4 separate regions of the Homo sapiens genome follow, and regions 2, 3 and 4 are each linked to region 1. The links are contacts of gene promoters, found by promoter capture Hi-C in blood cells and fetal thymus (Javierre and others, 2016). All regions are on one chromosome and are shown on one strand. Each heading gives the region's core, a stretch centred on a gene start or on the middle of the fragment in contact. The rest is flanking DNA. Distances are from core to core; before and after follow the strand shown.

Region 1 (3,717 bases), core at 791-3,290:
AGAAGTTTAGGTCTATCGGGGCACAGCAGCAGGTACGAGTAGAGCTCCAGGGAAGGGGCAGAGAAAGGAGACATCAAGGAGGAGATCACATTTAGTTTGATACTTTTAAGGTGATACAAGAATTTGCTAGGTAGGAAAAAGAATGTATTCATTATAGGCAAGAGCCACGGAGGGGGACGACAACTGGAAGGAGGTGCCACTGGGAAGGAGGTTGCAGTGAGAGTCTAAGGGGCAAAAATGAGGAACAAGTGAAGGGGCATAAATGAGGGGTCCTTAAGGGGGAAGATGTGCACGATCAGATTCAGGTGTCAGAAAGGCAACTTTAACCAAGTCTCTTCAGATTCTCTTTTTGCATCTCCTGAATTGCAGACACTAGGACTCAATCATTTTTTAGAAGCTAAAAAAAAAGTTCAGGCAAGATGAATTAGTATTAAGGGAGTGTTTGAGGCACCTGTGGCAGTGTTGTGCAATAGAAGAGGTGGAAGGAGGATGGCTAGGCTTTTCTTCCCTGATGTCCTACTACGAAAGGTTCCAGAGCTCTTGGCAGAGACAGTGATTGGTTCCGGGGCGGCGGTGGGGGGAGGGGGGCAGTGGTGGTGGGGGGTGGAGGAGCTCAAAGAACTCTGGAGTAGAAGCCAGAAGAGCTGACTAGCAGCAAGACCCAGACATCTCCCTTCTTCCACCTCTGTTTCTTCACCTGTGTGCCCAATATGGTTTGAGCTGCATCATCTTCAAGTTCCCTTCCAGCTCCAAAACACTGGGCATAAAACAACACATCAACTTCCAAACCCACTCTGAACACTAAACTCAATTTAACCAGACATCTTTTCAGCTGGAATGATTTGCCTTCCACTTTGTTTTCTACCTCAGATGCCTGGGGGACCACATGGAGAACACCCAGGGGAAGAGAAATTGATGGAGTGGGGTGGCTGGGTGCTGGCTGCTGACCTCCAGGAAGTTGTCACATCTGTTAGGTTGGGGCTGATGTCCCTCATTCTATCTAAAGAACTGTAGCTTGAGAACTTTCCTTTTGCTTGGTAAATACTGCCCTACACTAGAAGCAGTCGGTGTTCATTGACAGAAACAATGGGCAGCCAGTGTATTTGCCCAAAGGCAAGTCAACAAGAGAGGCAGCTGAAGGTGCTTGTGCTTGTTGTAGCAACTGGCAAGGGTGTAAATCAGTTGTTGCTTTTAGCCCATAATAATGAGATTCAATATTGTTTTTTCCAATACCTTTGATTGGTTCCAATCATATTACTTTTTCAAACAAATCTTCATTAGTAACAATCAATGCAAAAAAAAAATCTGTAAAAGTAACAAGGTGCAATAAAAGTAGATGAAAGACCTTACTTGATGTGTTAGAGGGCTACCCTCTAACACATAGCTCTTTGGTAGCTCTTCGGATAATTTCCCGTTTCCTTTTTTTTTTTTTAAGTTTATGTCGTTTCTTTAGTATGCTTTCTAGTAGTAAATTTTCACACCCCAGTTTTTCCAGGAGATTTTGGAATCAGCAGACTTCTCAGCCCACACCATAAAAAGCAAATTAATCATGTCTCTGTTTCAGCCAATTGAAGCTTTTGTTTTTTTTTACATAAACTGCCAAAAAGTTTATGGTTTTCTTAATATGCCCATTAAAGCTGGTAAATTACAGGGACGCACACTTCCTGGAAGACAAAGACTGAAAGAGGGTTAAATGAAGTGAGAGCTGTAGCCAGTTTAGACAGCTGCAGCGAAAGCGAAGTCCCCTCTCCATCCCACCCCCCAAAAAAAGGAGTTCTAATTTTCTCCACTTCTTTCACAGAAAGGATTAGATTTTCTGGGTGTCACCCTCCCCGGCAGAGTTCTGTAGCCTCGGGCACCCTACCAGCTTTTGCGATCCTCCTTCCCAGGAGTAGGAAGTGGAGGCGGCTTACCCCGGCCGACGGGAACGAGCGCGATCACCAGGGCGAAGACTAGGGCTGCGCGGGGAGCCTGCATGTCCGCTCGCCTCGGCAGAGGCGCGCTCAGGATGCTGCGCCGGGCTGCAGCCTCTCTGAAACGTGAACATTTCCTGTTTCCTGCTTGTTTGGGTCGGTGCTGACTTGAAGGAGAGGTGTGTGCCTGTTTTTTAGGAAGTGATGTAATTCTGCAGGAGCCTGTCAGACCAGCAAGGATTGCAAAAGAGAAGTTGCTGTTGAAGCACTGGTTCTATTATCACGCCTCTCCAGCCCTTTGGAGTCCCGGCCTCCAGCTTTTGAAACCGTCCCCGGGGCAACAGAGTCCCTTGCTCAGATGTCGTTCGGTATCTGGGACTGGGAGGGGTCCTGGACCACACGCATTCTCACTCTGTGATTTTGCTTATCCCCCAGGTGAGGCTCCGGGGCTGCCTAGACCCTAGGAAGAAGCTGTCCTGTAGAACTTTCTGCCCTGATGGAAATGTTCCAAGTCTGCGCCGTCTGATACAGTATCAGCCACATTGGCCACTGAGCATTTGAACTGAGGCTAGTGCTGATGGAATTTAAATTTTATTGAATTTTTATAAAATTTTAATAACTCCAAGTGGCTAGTGGCTGCTGTGTTGGATAGCGCAGGCCCAGACAGCAGGGACAACTGCATCATCAGAAAACTGCCAGACCACTTCTCTCCGCCAGGTCCATTCTCCTTTCTCCACTCTGGAATGCCCTCCTCCCACCAAGGCCCACGCCAGATGGAGGTGGATGCCACACCCACACCTTAAGGTTATGTTCTGCTTCCCCAGAGAGAAATGATCTTTTCAAGGTCCATTTCCAAAGGAGAATATGCTCTGAGGGTGGAGGTAGGGGTGAATCTGCATCTCACCTTCCTTCCTTCTTACTTGACAATCAAGTTCTCAGACAACAAACAAAACAGGACAGAAACGAAATAGAATAATGGTAGAAATCCTATCCAATCGAAACAATACAGAAAGGTTGTGTCTAGTATACAGTGGAGATTAGTGTGTGTTGGGTGTTCTATTGGAGGTCCTTCCCTTGGTTTAGGTTTAGGGCCTAAGCATTCAGAATGCAGTTTCATAATCGTGGTGCCAAGAGAGACAGACAGATGGAGAGAGGGGTAGTGTTGAGGCATCAGACACATCTCATCTCTAAACCTTTCCCTGCAGATCACCATCTGAGTCATGACTTCCCGTCGTTTGTCTTCAGTGATCTGGTTGGTGCAAACGTATGAGGTGACTGGAATTCCTTAGCCCCTGACATAGCTGTTAATTTTTCTTTAATGCATTGCTGCTTTTCAATGTCATTAGTCACTGTTTATCTCAGTTATTATTCACAAGAAATAGGTTGGTGATTCATGTAAGGATCAGTTTGTTAATGGATTTACAGTATGCACTTTAATGTTTTAAACTGGCAATTAAGTCAATTCTTGATAAAATATGCTTTTTGCACCACAGGTGACAATACAGAACAAACAGCAGGAGAAAATAGACGTGCTCAAAACTGGGTGATTGATTTGAAAACAACAGAGAAAGAACTATTAATTAAACACTTGCTGAGCATGTGAATAGATCACGGGCTCCAAGACCTGCTGGTACTGAGTTGGGGTGGCAATTATTCCTGTACAAGCACGTGTTTCTGCAGCTGTGACACACACGTGCAAGAAAGCAGGCCCAGGGCTTGGGAGTTCTCTCCATTTTACCATTTATGCCCTATTAAAATATTATTAAATGTTATTAAAACATTGTTGAATCCCAGGCTGGAGGCA
Region 2 (3,717 bases), core at 846-3,345, 920 kb before region 1:
ATTTGTGTTCACTAAGAAGAAAGAGATAATGGTTAAGATGTATTATATTTGTCACCATGAATGAATTTCTATAAGTCTAAACCACAAATGTTAATTTCCTATATGTGTTTTAAACTTAATACAATGTTATATCCTCACATTAAAAATGTGTCATATTTTATCAGTGACTAAATAAAAAACAATTTAGAATAAGCGCCTACACTGAGATTGGCAAACTAAAATTCATTTACAACATGGCATCAGGAGGCTGATGATATAAACATGAAGGCTATAGAGAAAGGAACAATTTGGCGTCTTAAAACAATTTAGAAATGGGTATCAGGTGACAACTGCTTGGCTGACTTCAGTGAAAAGCGGCATTTAACAAATTAACTGTAACTTATCAAGTAATCACTCAGTAAATGATGAAAGCTGATCTTTCCCACATTATCTAGAATTAACATAAATGGCAACATTCTACTACTAGAGAAATAATGATAAATAGTTCCACGTCTCTTATTTAAAAAGGAAATTCTCAACCATGTTTTGGTTTGCATGTATAATAACCAGAGAGACACAGATACAATAAATCACCACTAAATGATACTCTTAAAAAAATTTTGCAAAACTCCACCACACTAAACCATCTGATGCGGCATATTTTTGGTCCCCCAAATCACTTTCAATTCCTGAGACCTAATTTCAGGTTACTTTTTTAATGCTTATTTGCTATCAAATCTAAGAAGCTGTTAAATGCTATAATAATCTCTCTTATCTGGTCAGTCCTACTCTGTTGGGTCTGTACATAGGCCTCTCCAGGTCCTTATAAATGTGCTTATTCCCTATGAAATCCATGTATGTTCCTATCCTGCTCTTCTCCCAAGTAATTTTGTGTATATACATATATATATATATACATATTTTACATCGTTTTGTTTTGTTTCAATCATTTCAACATATAAAGTTCTATATCTGAAGTACTGCAAGAATAAGTCCTTCTTTTTAAAGTTTGGAAACACAGCCCATAAGGGAGGGGAATTAAAGTAGGAACTCATTAGAAATTCTGCATGCAGTAAAGCACCATTCAAAGTATTTTTGCATTTCCATTACATGAGAGAAAAAATGTACTTTCCATTCACAAGGAAACAATCTAATTCACGAAAAGAATACAAAACTGAATACTTCTTTCTGGACAATTTCCCTCTGTTCCTCCAACTGAAAGTAAAAATAATGCCAACTAGTCTCAAAGAATAAACAAAATATTAGAAACTTGCCATATGTTTCTGTATTTAAAGAGAAACTATTTAATTCTTACATAATGAAGCATAAACAGCTGTTCAGGGGATATCTGGCCAAATAAGCAAAACTCTCCATATAACCAGGGGGAGTATCTCTTCTTTTGGCTGCGTCCTCCTAGGTCTAGTCACACATATTCCAACATAAAACGCCTGCACAGATAGCTAGTGTTTTCTGACTAATGACAATAACCCACCACTACCAAGAGCTTGTAGGTAAAGGCTCCCTTTCTACCTTTAGAACGCTGCCAGCCCATACTAGCGCTAAATAAAATCAGCTAAATATGATCCCGCTTCTCGTGTCACCGTCCCCACTGCTAGTGCTATTAGTAAGATGACCGAATCCACTCTTCTGTCTGTGCACCCTTCAAGAAAATATTTGCTATTTTACACTCGCGAATTCCCCAACTACATCTATTTGAAAACAGTGGTTTATATATGGGGGCGGAGTTGATAGAAAGTCTGTTTGTGCTTTTATTTAGGTTTCGGGGCTCCAGGTTATAACTCAACGCCCTCCCGTCAGCCAAAACGTCTAGAAGCTGGGCCGTAATTGCCATTATTTCCCCAGTCCTGCAGTTCCACCTCACAGTTAGGTGGGCAGAAATGTATGAAACAGAATACCCTTTCCTCGTCTTCTGGGCCGTGTGGAGGGGCTGCTGAGCCACTGAGCTCTCTCCCCTAATCTGGTTGGATGTGGACCCAGTCGGAGCCCCTCTTCGGTGGCAAGAACCACCGTCAACCCGGGCGAAAGCCCAACGTCTTCCACGGCAGCCCCAGCGCAGCATGGGCGCCGCCATTGTAACTCCAGGGTCTTGGTCAGGTGACTCAGCCTCACTATGCCGCGAGGCTCCCTGGGAAGCGTAGTTCTGGAAATGCATTAAAAACGCCATAGGCTCGGACCGGAAGACTACTATTCCCGGCGAGCATTGTGATTCGAAGCCTGCCGGAACCCCGCGGAGAGGGGAGGGAAGGAGAAATAGAGGAGAGGGTGGGAGGGTTTCTGGGTGGGGAGGTGTGACTCCTCCTAGCGGGGAGTTGGAGAGGTTTGTGGCTGTGAGCGTGTGTATAAGTTAGAGTGTGAGCGCTTGATGCTTGGTGCTAAAGCGTGGCCGGGATTTTATAACCCAGTTAACCTTGCAAGGGGAAGTAAATGACCTTGACAGCTCAGCAGAGACTTCCTCAGCCCCCAAACCCAATCCGTTATATTCTCTGTCTACTCTCCTGCTTCACTCAGCAATTTGTGCGTTAATGCAACAAATACTTATTTGCATGCCTACCGTAATGCCAGGCTCAGTTCTCTTAGGCACTGTAGTTACTGCAGAGATCAAGACAGTTATGGCCCGCATGTTCATGGAGCTTACATTCTAAAGAAGGGAGACATACAGAAGTTAACAAAAATAAGATACTTCCATATAGGTAGTAAGTGCTATGTTTAAGCAGAGGTAATTGGAGACAAACAGCCCTAGATTGAATGTTCATGTACATTTTAACCTCCTTTTTATTATTGGCCAGTATCAGAAACACACTCCTTATATGCTAGGAGCAGATACCATCGTCCCAGCGGACTTCCTTCATTTTCCTGTGTCAAAACTAATACCCCTTGTTAAAACTGCCACCGATTTCTTGTGTTTGAACACAGTCTAGAATAGTCATTTAGCCACTCTCTATTTCATCACCCGACTTTGATTGTCCTCGTAGTGCTTTTGACTGCCTGATGTTTATCTTCTATTTCCACAAATTCCTCGTCTGTCTTATTCACTACAGTACAAAGTAGGTTCCTTAAAAATATTTGTTGAATAAAGTAGTGCAGTGTGGAGAATGCATTTGACAAAGGATGGAGTGGATGCCCTTTGGAGCAGTAATTGTTTAGGGGAGAGATGATGAGTTAGGGTGGTGGCAGAGCCAAAGAGAAATGGATCTGTTTGAGATAGATATAGGAAGTAAAATTGAAGGACTCTGATGGATTGGATATGATGGTGGAAGGCTAGGAGAAACAAATAACTCCTGGATTTCTGGTTTGCACAACTGGCTGATGAAGTTATCCACCGAGATAAGGAAACCAGAAAAGGAACAGGTTTGCAAAGAAAACATATGAGTTTGGTTGCCTTGGAGACATTCAAGAGGAGAAATCAAGTAGACATCAGTGATGCCTAATTCTGAGTATAGAGCAGGGCAAGGGGAAAAGCTGCATATTTTGTATACTTCACATTGATAGATTTTCAGTTATTGATCAATAATCCATTGATTAGTTGGCTGTAACCTTTGATCTTTTCCTTTAATACACTTCAATTGCATATCCATATGGAAGAAAGAAACTTTAGTTACTGTCCTTAAAATTGTCATCATTTATTTTTTCCATCTTTTCTACTTTTTCATCCACTATCACTGTTCTAAATTGCCACACCAGAAGTATCAGTCATTTGACCAAGGATGAAAATGACAA
Region 3 (3,717 bases), core at 516-3,015, 840 kb after region 1:
AAACTGTGCCCATTGAACAATAACTCCTCATTCCTCCCTCCCGCTCAAGCCCGTAGCACCCACCCTTTTACTTCCGTCTCTGTGGATTTGACTACTCTGCGTGCTTCATAGGAGGGAGAATCATACGTTACTTGTCTTTTTAGGATTGGCTTCTTTCATTTAGCGTAATGTCTTCAAGATTTATCCATGTTGTTGCATGTGTTTTCTGTGTTTTTTTTTTTTTTTTGTTAACATCATGTTGTTATTACACAAGAAGTGCATGTTTATTTTACAGTTTTTCAACAGTATACAGAAGAATAAAAAGATTACATTATTCCCCTACCCAACATAACTTTTGTTATTTTGGTGTATGTGCTTCTACTGAGCCTGCAACTTAAAGCAGAATCGTTTAGAGTGAAATCTTACACGTGCTGCCCTGGGACCTCTGGTTTTCTTGGGTGTGAGAGGAACTGTTGAATGTAAATTTTCAAGAGAGTGAGAAATCAAGTGTGGGTCTGTGAGGCTGTGGTGAAGGAGCCGGAGGAGAAACGTGGAGTGGTGAAGTGGGAACCCTCAACCGCCATTTGTGAAATGGGACGTTCTCACCTTTGAAGCTTGAGCTTGTGGGTTTTGAGTTCCTGTTTTGTGCCCTTTTAATGTCAACTTTCTAAGTTCATAAGTTGGTAGGAAATAGGTGTCCTAACTTCCATTGTGTGCAGATAATAGGAGACTTAAATAAAAGGTGGGTGAGAAGCAGGGATGTTGCATGCCAAGCACTAGGGGAAGGAGGAGACCGGGATGGAAGTAAACGTGAAGGCAGTGCTGCGGGCAGAGGGACCGCCCTCTGGGCTCCCTGGGACTCGGTCTGTGTGGCTCTTCCAGGAAGCGTGACCCTTCCCCCTGCCTCATGCTATTTCTGCCAGAACGCTTTGGTGCCCTACCGAGCTCTCTCTTCTCGTTTGGCTCCACCCAGTAAGATGGAGTTCCTTAAGAGCAAGGTCCTTCAGTTATTTCTTATTTTTTATCCCCAGCACCTAGCTGGGTTCCCTCGCCCTAGCCAGTCTTTAATAAATGCTTCTTGGAATGAAAGAATGAGAGCCTGCCCAGAAGGTGGTCATTCCCATATCTCATCGTGTGCCACAGCCCATTTCATTTCTCACCTCACCTCCCCATCCCCATCCTTTGTGAAGTCCCCTTCCTGGAGGGCCTCCCCATCCTCCCACTATCACTGCCCACAGACTACTTTGAGCAATGGGTTGCTTGAAGCCCTGCCTTGAGTTACACTGGGTGATCTAGACCAGGCAGAGGAAATCCCCATTGCCTTTGCCTGGGCTACAGAGCTTGGGTTTTCCCTTAGTCCACTCTGATACATGGTAGTTAGACTTTATAGGACTTAAGGATGAGTAGGTTTTTGTGGCTTGGTTTGCTCACCTAATCATCAACGTACTGTGTTTCTTAGTTCTTAAAAAAAATAGTTTAAGGCCATAGGATTACCTGTATTTTTAACTTTTGTGCCCTTAGAATTTTATGTTAGAATAAAATCTGAAATATAGTTTCTTGTGACTATAATTCCCAAATGTTATGTCAGGCATTGGCAAGCCATGTTATTTAAAACTGCCAGAAGTATGTTGCCTTTTAAGTGGAAGTATTTGTGAAACGTATGAATTTCCTAGTATCCCTCTAGGCTGCTGTGTGTTGAATGGAATTCCTTCTATAAGACGTGAGATTAGGCAGTTTGCCTTAAGCTAGCAGAGGGGACTAGCTATTCATTTTAGGAATGAATGGAGGCCAGAGAGAAGCATAATAAGCCAAAACTTAAAATTCAGAAGGGAAATAGCACTACATTGTTTAGGAGGAAACTAAATCTGTGGCATAAGTCTGAAGGTAAGACTTGGTAAAAAGAAGGGGAAGTCTTTGAGGAAGAAGAATTGAGGCTTTAGAAAATGCAAAGGCTGACATTTGCAGAGCTGGTCGGCTAGTTGTTTTGAAGAGGGTGCTAATGGGAAGCACTCAGGAGGTTGTGTGCTTCTAATTGGCCTCAAGTTTTATAGTTGAATTTTCATGGATCGTTATCATATTATTATTGATGGGATTATGGAGAAAAGTCTGCGGTTAGTGTTAAAAGAAAATTAAAATATTTCCAAATCAAGGCCACACCCAGAAAAGATCTCACCTTTACTCCTGCAGTCAGGCTGATAGATTACATAGCAAGTTGTATTTTGTTTTGTACCCCATACTCAGGGTGATACCCAAGGTTTTACCTAATCAGAGGAGGCCTCAGCCTTCCATAAAGGGAGCATGTTCTGTTTGATTATCAGCCCTGCCCTTACTTCATGACATAGTTTTCTCATTAGAAAATTCATGTTTATTGTAGGAAGATTAAGTAACTCAGAAAAGAACAAAGAGAATAAAAGTCGTCATCACCCAATCTCCTGGCTGAGAACTGATTTACCAGCACGTCTCACTTTAGGTTTTCTGTCTTTCCCATGTTTCACTTCTGTTTTTTTTTTTTTTTTTTTTCCTGTCTTAGCTGCAAAGTCTAGTGGGGAATTTGGCCCCTGGCTGCTCTGGATTGCCATTCTCAGAGCTTTGCATTCTCAGGAGTTCCCTTCCAGGGCATGTAGCCCAAGGACTCTGATGGACCTGCCCTAGGTCTCTCAGCAGAAGGAGGGGCAGCAGCTAAGTTGTGTGTGTCGGTTGAGGCCATAAGCGAGGGCTACTCCCTGCTGGCAGTCCAGGTCTTCTCCCACAACACTTTGTAAATTTTAAAAAGGCCAAAAAGAAAAATAGTTGCTAATATCAAGGACACAGATATATGTTTTAATGACTGACATTGTTTGCAGGTAAATATGTCAAAGGGAGAGTTATATTTTTATGAGCTTTATGTGTGTCTTATTTTGAAGACAGTTTATACAATAATGATGCATGCTTTTTATTTTAAGGGACTTTGTAAAGAAGATAAGCTTGTCTAATAGTGCATGGGATTGCTTGGTAGGAGGCCTAGGTTTGTTTCTTAGCTCAGCTGTTTAACCAGATCCTTGACTTTGGGCAAGCACCCCTCTGGGTTTCCATTTCGTGGCCTGGAGGAGGAGAAATTTAGACCCTGTGGTCTATTAAGGTTACTTCCAACATAAAACTCCCATGTTATGGGTTGAAGCCTGATTTTATCACTTTATGTTATTTAGAGGATTTGTAGCTGTGTCATAGATTTTGTGCAGTGTCGCCATTGCTGTGATTTATTTGGTGCCTTTGGCCAGGATGTAACCCTTCAATTACAGTGTAGTTCCCATGGGAAGGTATGATATTGGCTTCATGTTGTGGGTTCTAGGAATGTTCCATGGAGGTAAAGCAGGGGCTATCTCTGTAAGTAGTTTCATTGGATGGCTCGTGTTTTAGGACCACACTGCTGTTTGGCTAGTGAAGCATACGTAATGATGCTGAGTGTAATAGCACACTGTCCAGGTATTTGACAGGCATTTCTCTCTGGTTTATGGGTTGATGCGACTTGATACATAATGATTATTCTCCTTCTTTCCAATGTGTTTGAGTGGTGCACACAAATCAGGCATATATTGGAAAGTTTTAGGATTTTTTAAAAGGATTTTTCCGTTTTTAAAAACTTGAAATAGTGATTGTGATAGTACCTCTAGAGCCAGTGCCTGTTCTTTCATCACAGGTTTAACAGCCTCATAAGTAAATCCTTTTCCTTTCAGTTTCTTTTTTTTTGAGACTGGATCT
Region 4 (3,717 bases), core at 756-3,255, 820 kb before region 1:
CTATAATTGTTATTTTATGGAATCATTCAGTATGTATCTTTTTGAGATTGTCAGCCATCTCCTTTTTCCAAGTCCCATAAAAAATAATGGTCTCATTTTGGAAGGTAACATCTATTGTTTTCGTGCGTCAGCCAAAGGGGAGGCAAGAAGAGTTCCATTTTAACATCCTGTTACAAATAGTTTTGTTCAAGTTTGGGACATATTTTCTATAATGTATCATTCTGATGGCTCAGCATTTCATTCATTTAACAAATATTTATGGAGTGCCTGGCATTTTATTGTTTTGGATGCTACTGTCCTGTGTTAGGCTTAATGTTCTCAGGAGAGCAAATAATTCCCAGGGTCTTCTCCTGGCATTATAGGTCATTTCTAGGCTATTGTTCTACAACTGCTTATTCTTAAAGTGTTTTAACTTGAACTTGCCCTGAAGTTGAAATTTCTGTACCACTTTCTGTTGAGCCTTGAAAAGGCTCTCTCCTATTGACTTACCATTTCACTTAGAATATCTCGGGGTCATCTACCACTCTGAGAGTTTCACTGCACACCTAGTTCTTCAAATCTCTTAATAAAATTATTCACCAAAGATTGGCACCTCTTGACCTCTGAGAGATCTTACCTTTTACAAAGAAATGAGTCTTTTTTATTACCCAGTTTTCCTTGCTGAAATTTAATTATTTGTCCACTTCGAATAGTCTGTGACTCCTATGGTGATCCATTCATTCTTTACTCACCCATAATCAGGTTTTAGTGTAGACACTTGACAAAGACATTTTCAAAGCCTGCAAAATGACTCACTCCCCTTACCCTGTGTACCCCCAAGGAACTTTGAAAATCAGACCTGATTCCTCCATGTAGAACCCATCCTGCGTTTGCCTCCATGGGTGTGTTGATTCAAACTTTCTGCAATTTTGTACTTTATTTAAAGATAAATTTGTACTTTATTCCAGCAGCCTGGCTGGTATGGAAGGGAGAAACTAACAGTTGGTTTCCCAGGGTCCCCTCTGGAAAAGCAGGCTGAGGCTTAACATTGGCAACCCGACTGTCCTGCAGCACCGCAGCTGTTGCAACAACTGGTCTCACATCATAGTCGACAGTTCCACAGTTCTGCCCATGAATTCATTTGAAATTCCTAGGTGTATCACATCCTATCTGGGTGATTTATTGATATCTGTTTTGTCAGAGAAGACTAGAACATTCTGTGCATCTACTATGATTTTATTGAATGCTCCAACCTGTCCATTTCAAGGGCATGCATCTTCCTTGGTAAAGGGCAAGGCAAAGCATTAATGCATTGTCGCTTCTATCTTTTCTTTCATTCCTTTGTGCATTCCATGAATGCCCTCAGTTTTTTGTTTTTGTTTTTGACATTCTTTGGAGTTTCTTACAAGGTGCCCTTTAATAGATCATAGAATTTCAGAAGTAAAAGAAATGTTGAAATGTAGTTTGGTCCAAACACCCCATTCTAAAGATGAAAAAAGCTGAAGTTGAAAGAAGTTCTGTGACTTGATCTGACACATTGAATGGCTTCTGTTTCCATTTTGGTTGTGTGTGCTTATTTTTTTGATATTTCTGTTAATTTGAAATTTTGAATAACTTGGCTTTCCTTTTGGACCTTAAAATGTTGTCCTTTTGTAAGTCTCTGTGGTGCTACAAAGAGGCTATCTCATCAACGCTGTTGCCTGTCCACCTGGCTGCTGATCAGCTTGATTCTGCTATCCAGGATCCAGGGGATCCTAAGGTACCAAGCCTCTCTGCTCAACCCTGCCCAGTTCAGGAATCTCTCTGCCTTGACATTTGCTACAGCTTCTGCTTGTCGCCACCCTCTCACAGAGAACTTGTTTATTTCTCCACAGTTAAAAATTCCTGGTTACAATGTGTTCCTTTTATAAAAACGGTCTGCTTTCCAAAAGGCTGCTTTCTCAGAGCATTTCACTTTGCCATCTCTGTCGGGGGATCTGAGCCGTGACATACGCAGGGTTGAAGTGGGATGGGATGAGATGGGAAGCCCTTGCATATCTTTCTGGAGGGTGTGAAGCCAGCCGGCTTCTTTTGACTCACCATCCTGCTGTCTTATTTTTACAGCGAAAAGGAGGCAAACGCCATCCTCCTTGCTTTCAGCCTTCGTTTTGAGCGCTGCACACCCATGAGTACCGCCAGGGGTTCCCATCCAGACCGCGTGGCTATTTCCACTCCCATGATGTCCACAGCGGCCTTTATCAGCCACCTGGGCACTGGAGCAGGGGCCTCCTGCTTTCTTATTCGGTCTCCCATCTAGTTGGTCTGTGCTAGGGCTGGGAGTACCATGGGAATAAAAACCGAACATGTCATCCCTTTCCTCAAGGCTGTGGTTCCTGGTGCCCCCCTAGTTTCATGCAGGGTGTCTAAGGCAAGGTCAACATCCTCTTGGCACACAGCAAGACCTCAGTGAGCCTATGTTCGGTGCTCATCATTGGATATATTTCAGCAGGGTCTCTCTGCCTCCACTGTGGCCCCCTGGAATGGGTTTATTGTTCATGCAACAGCCAGAGAGGATGCCAAAAAATGCACATCCAGTCATGCCACTGCTCTGCCCAATGCCTTCCTCCCACACACAATGTCTCCCCCGTCACGTTACCCTGTGATAGAATGAATTCCTGTCCCCATTTTCATGATACTTGATAACTCGTACTCTGCCGCAGCCTCACCGTGGCCCTGGTGTATTTCCGGTCCCTTGATTTGACTTAGTCACATCATGTGCTTTGTCCTTGGGACGGCAGTGGCCCTCACGCCAGCAGATGCTTGTCATGAGCCTGTGCGGCTGGATTTACGCTCCTCATGTCTGCCACTGCCAGGACAAGAACAAGAGCAGTTGCTCCTGCCTTTTGCATCTTGGGTCCCAGAATGAAACACGTGGAGGAGGCCTGTCCGGGCTGAGCCGATGATGTGCAGTGAGACGCTTGCTGCTGTGTGCCACTGAACATCTGTCGTTGCCATGCAGCAAGAGCTGATTGATGCAGAATCCAAAGCCTTACCTCGTGGTCCTGAGTGTCCTCTCTGACAGCATTTTTGTACACTCTCGCCCTCATGGATTGTGCTCCAGCAGTGTGTTCCTGCCCCAGGGTTTTGCCTTTGTTGTGTCCTCCACTTATAATTTTATTTCCTTCAACTACCTGTTTGGAGCTCTGGTAGTGATAATTGTGGTGAAGCAGGATAAGGGGCTAGTGAGTCCCGGCGGGGGCAGGAGGAGGCTGTTTTAGATGGGGTGGTCCGAGGAGGGGACATCTGAGCAGAGAACTCAAAGGGTGAGGGAGTGAGGGAGCAAGCCACACGTATCAGTGGGGGCAGGGGGCCCGGGCGTGTTCCTTGCAAACAGTGTCTTCTAAGCACTCTATGGTTTTCTTCCTGCGTTAGTGGCTTATATGAAGGACCTGGAAACTCCTTTCTTCCCTCCTCATCCTACCCATATCCTTCTCATTGTGAATTGAGGCCAATCCCTTCCAGGTCCCTCGGCTTCCTAGGAGATTGAGGTCTGCCCCTGGCCTATGTTCCCAGGGTGCCCTGGCAGCTCTCCAGTTATTTGTTGGGGAGGACCATCTTGGGTTCATAGCCAGCTAAGAATAAAGAAGTTAGACTGGGAAAAATGATATTTAGGAAGAGTTTTAAAACTTATTCACTCTACCATTCTTCTAAGTATTCTGAACCTTCTTCTGGGTACAACCAGGTTGGTAGGGAGCTGAT

The links. Contacts are between HindIII fragments. The CHiCAGO score rates a contact against its expected background, and 5 or more counts as called.
Region 2: the fragment with the promoter of GATB here is called in contact with the fragment with the promoter of TMEM154 in region 1 in 7 of 17 cell types (non-activated CD4 T cells, naive CD8 T cells, activated CD4 T cells and 4 more); the score reaches 10.1 in non-activated CD4 T cells.
Region 3: a contact is called between a fragment that was not itself captured here and the fragment with the promoter of TMEM154 in region 1, in 1 of 17 cell types (total B cells). The highest score is 6.2, in total B cells.
Region 4: a contact is called between a fragment that was not itself captured here and the fragment with the promoter of TMEM154 in region 1, in 1 of 17 cell types (monocytes). The highest score is 6.1, in monocytes.

The regions. Positions count from the first base shown.
Region 1 is chr4:152,677,957-152,681,673 of GRCh38, forward strand. It overlaps TMEM154 (transmembrane protein 154), which reads right to left and starts at 2,041. Exons shown (of 7, transcript NM_152680.3): 1 at 1,914-2,041. The coding sequence starts at 1,977. It overlaps LOC105377495 (a long non-coding RNA gene), which reads left to right and starts at 2,129. Exons shown (of 4, transcript XR_939359.3): 1 at 2,129-2,348; 2 at 2,631-2,717; 3 at 3,119-3,184; 4 at 3,407-3,706. RefSeq lists enhancers at 1,675-2,504, 1,815-2,124. The HindIII fragment of the contact is 2,211 bases long and covers 1,573-3,717 here.
Region 2 is chr4:151,758,912-151,762,628 of GRCh38, forward strand. It overlaps GATB (glutamyl-tRNA amidotransferase subunit B), which reads right to left and starts at 2,096. Exons shown (of 13, transcript NM_004564.3): 1 at 1,896-2,096; 2 at 1-11. The coding sequence starts at 2,071. RefSeq lists an enhancer at 1,812-2,091. The HindIII fragment of the contact is 14,733 bases long and covers 1-3,717 here.
Region 3 is chr4:153,521,653-153,525,369 of GRCh38, forward strand. All of the region lies in intron 3 of TMEM131L (transmembrane 131 like), which reads left to right. Among named protein-coding and RNA genes, the nearest start is that of TMEM131L, 57 kb to the left of the region's middle. RefSeq lists enhancers at 1,127-1,176, 1,350-2,190. The HindIII fragment of the contact is 2,349 bases long and covers 592-2,940 here.
Region 4 is chr4:151,858,772-151,862,488 of GRCh38, forward strand. The region is part of intron 2 of LOC127898557 (a long non-coding RNA gene); the gene reads left to right. Among named protein-coding and RNA genes, the nearest start is that of LINC03074, 95 kb to the right of the region's middle. The HindIII fragment of the contact is 9,737 bases long and covers 1-3,717 here.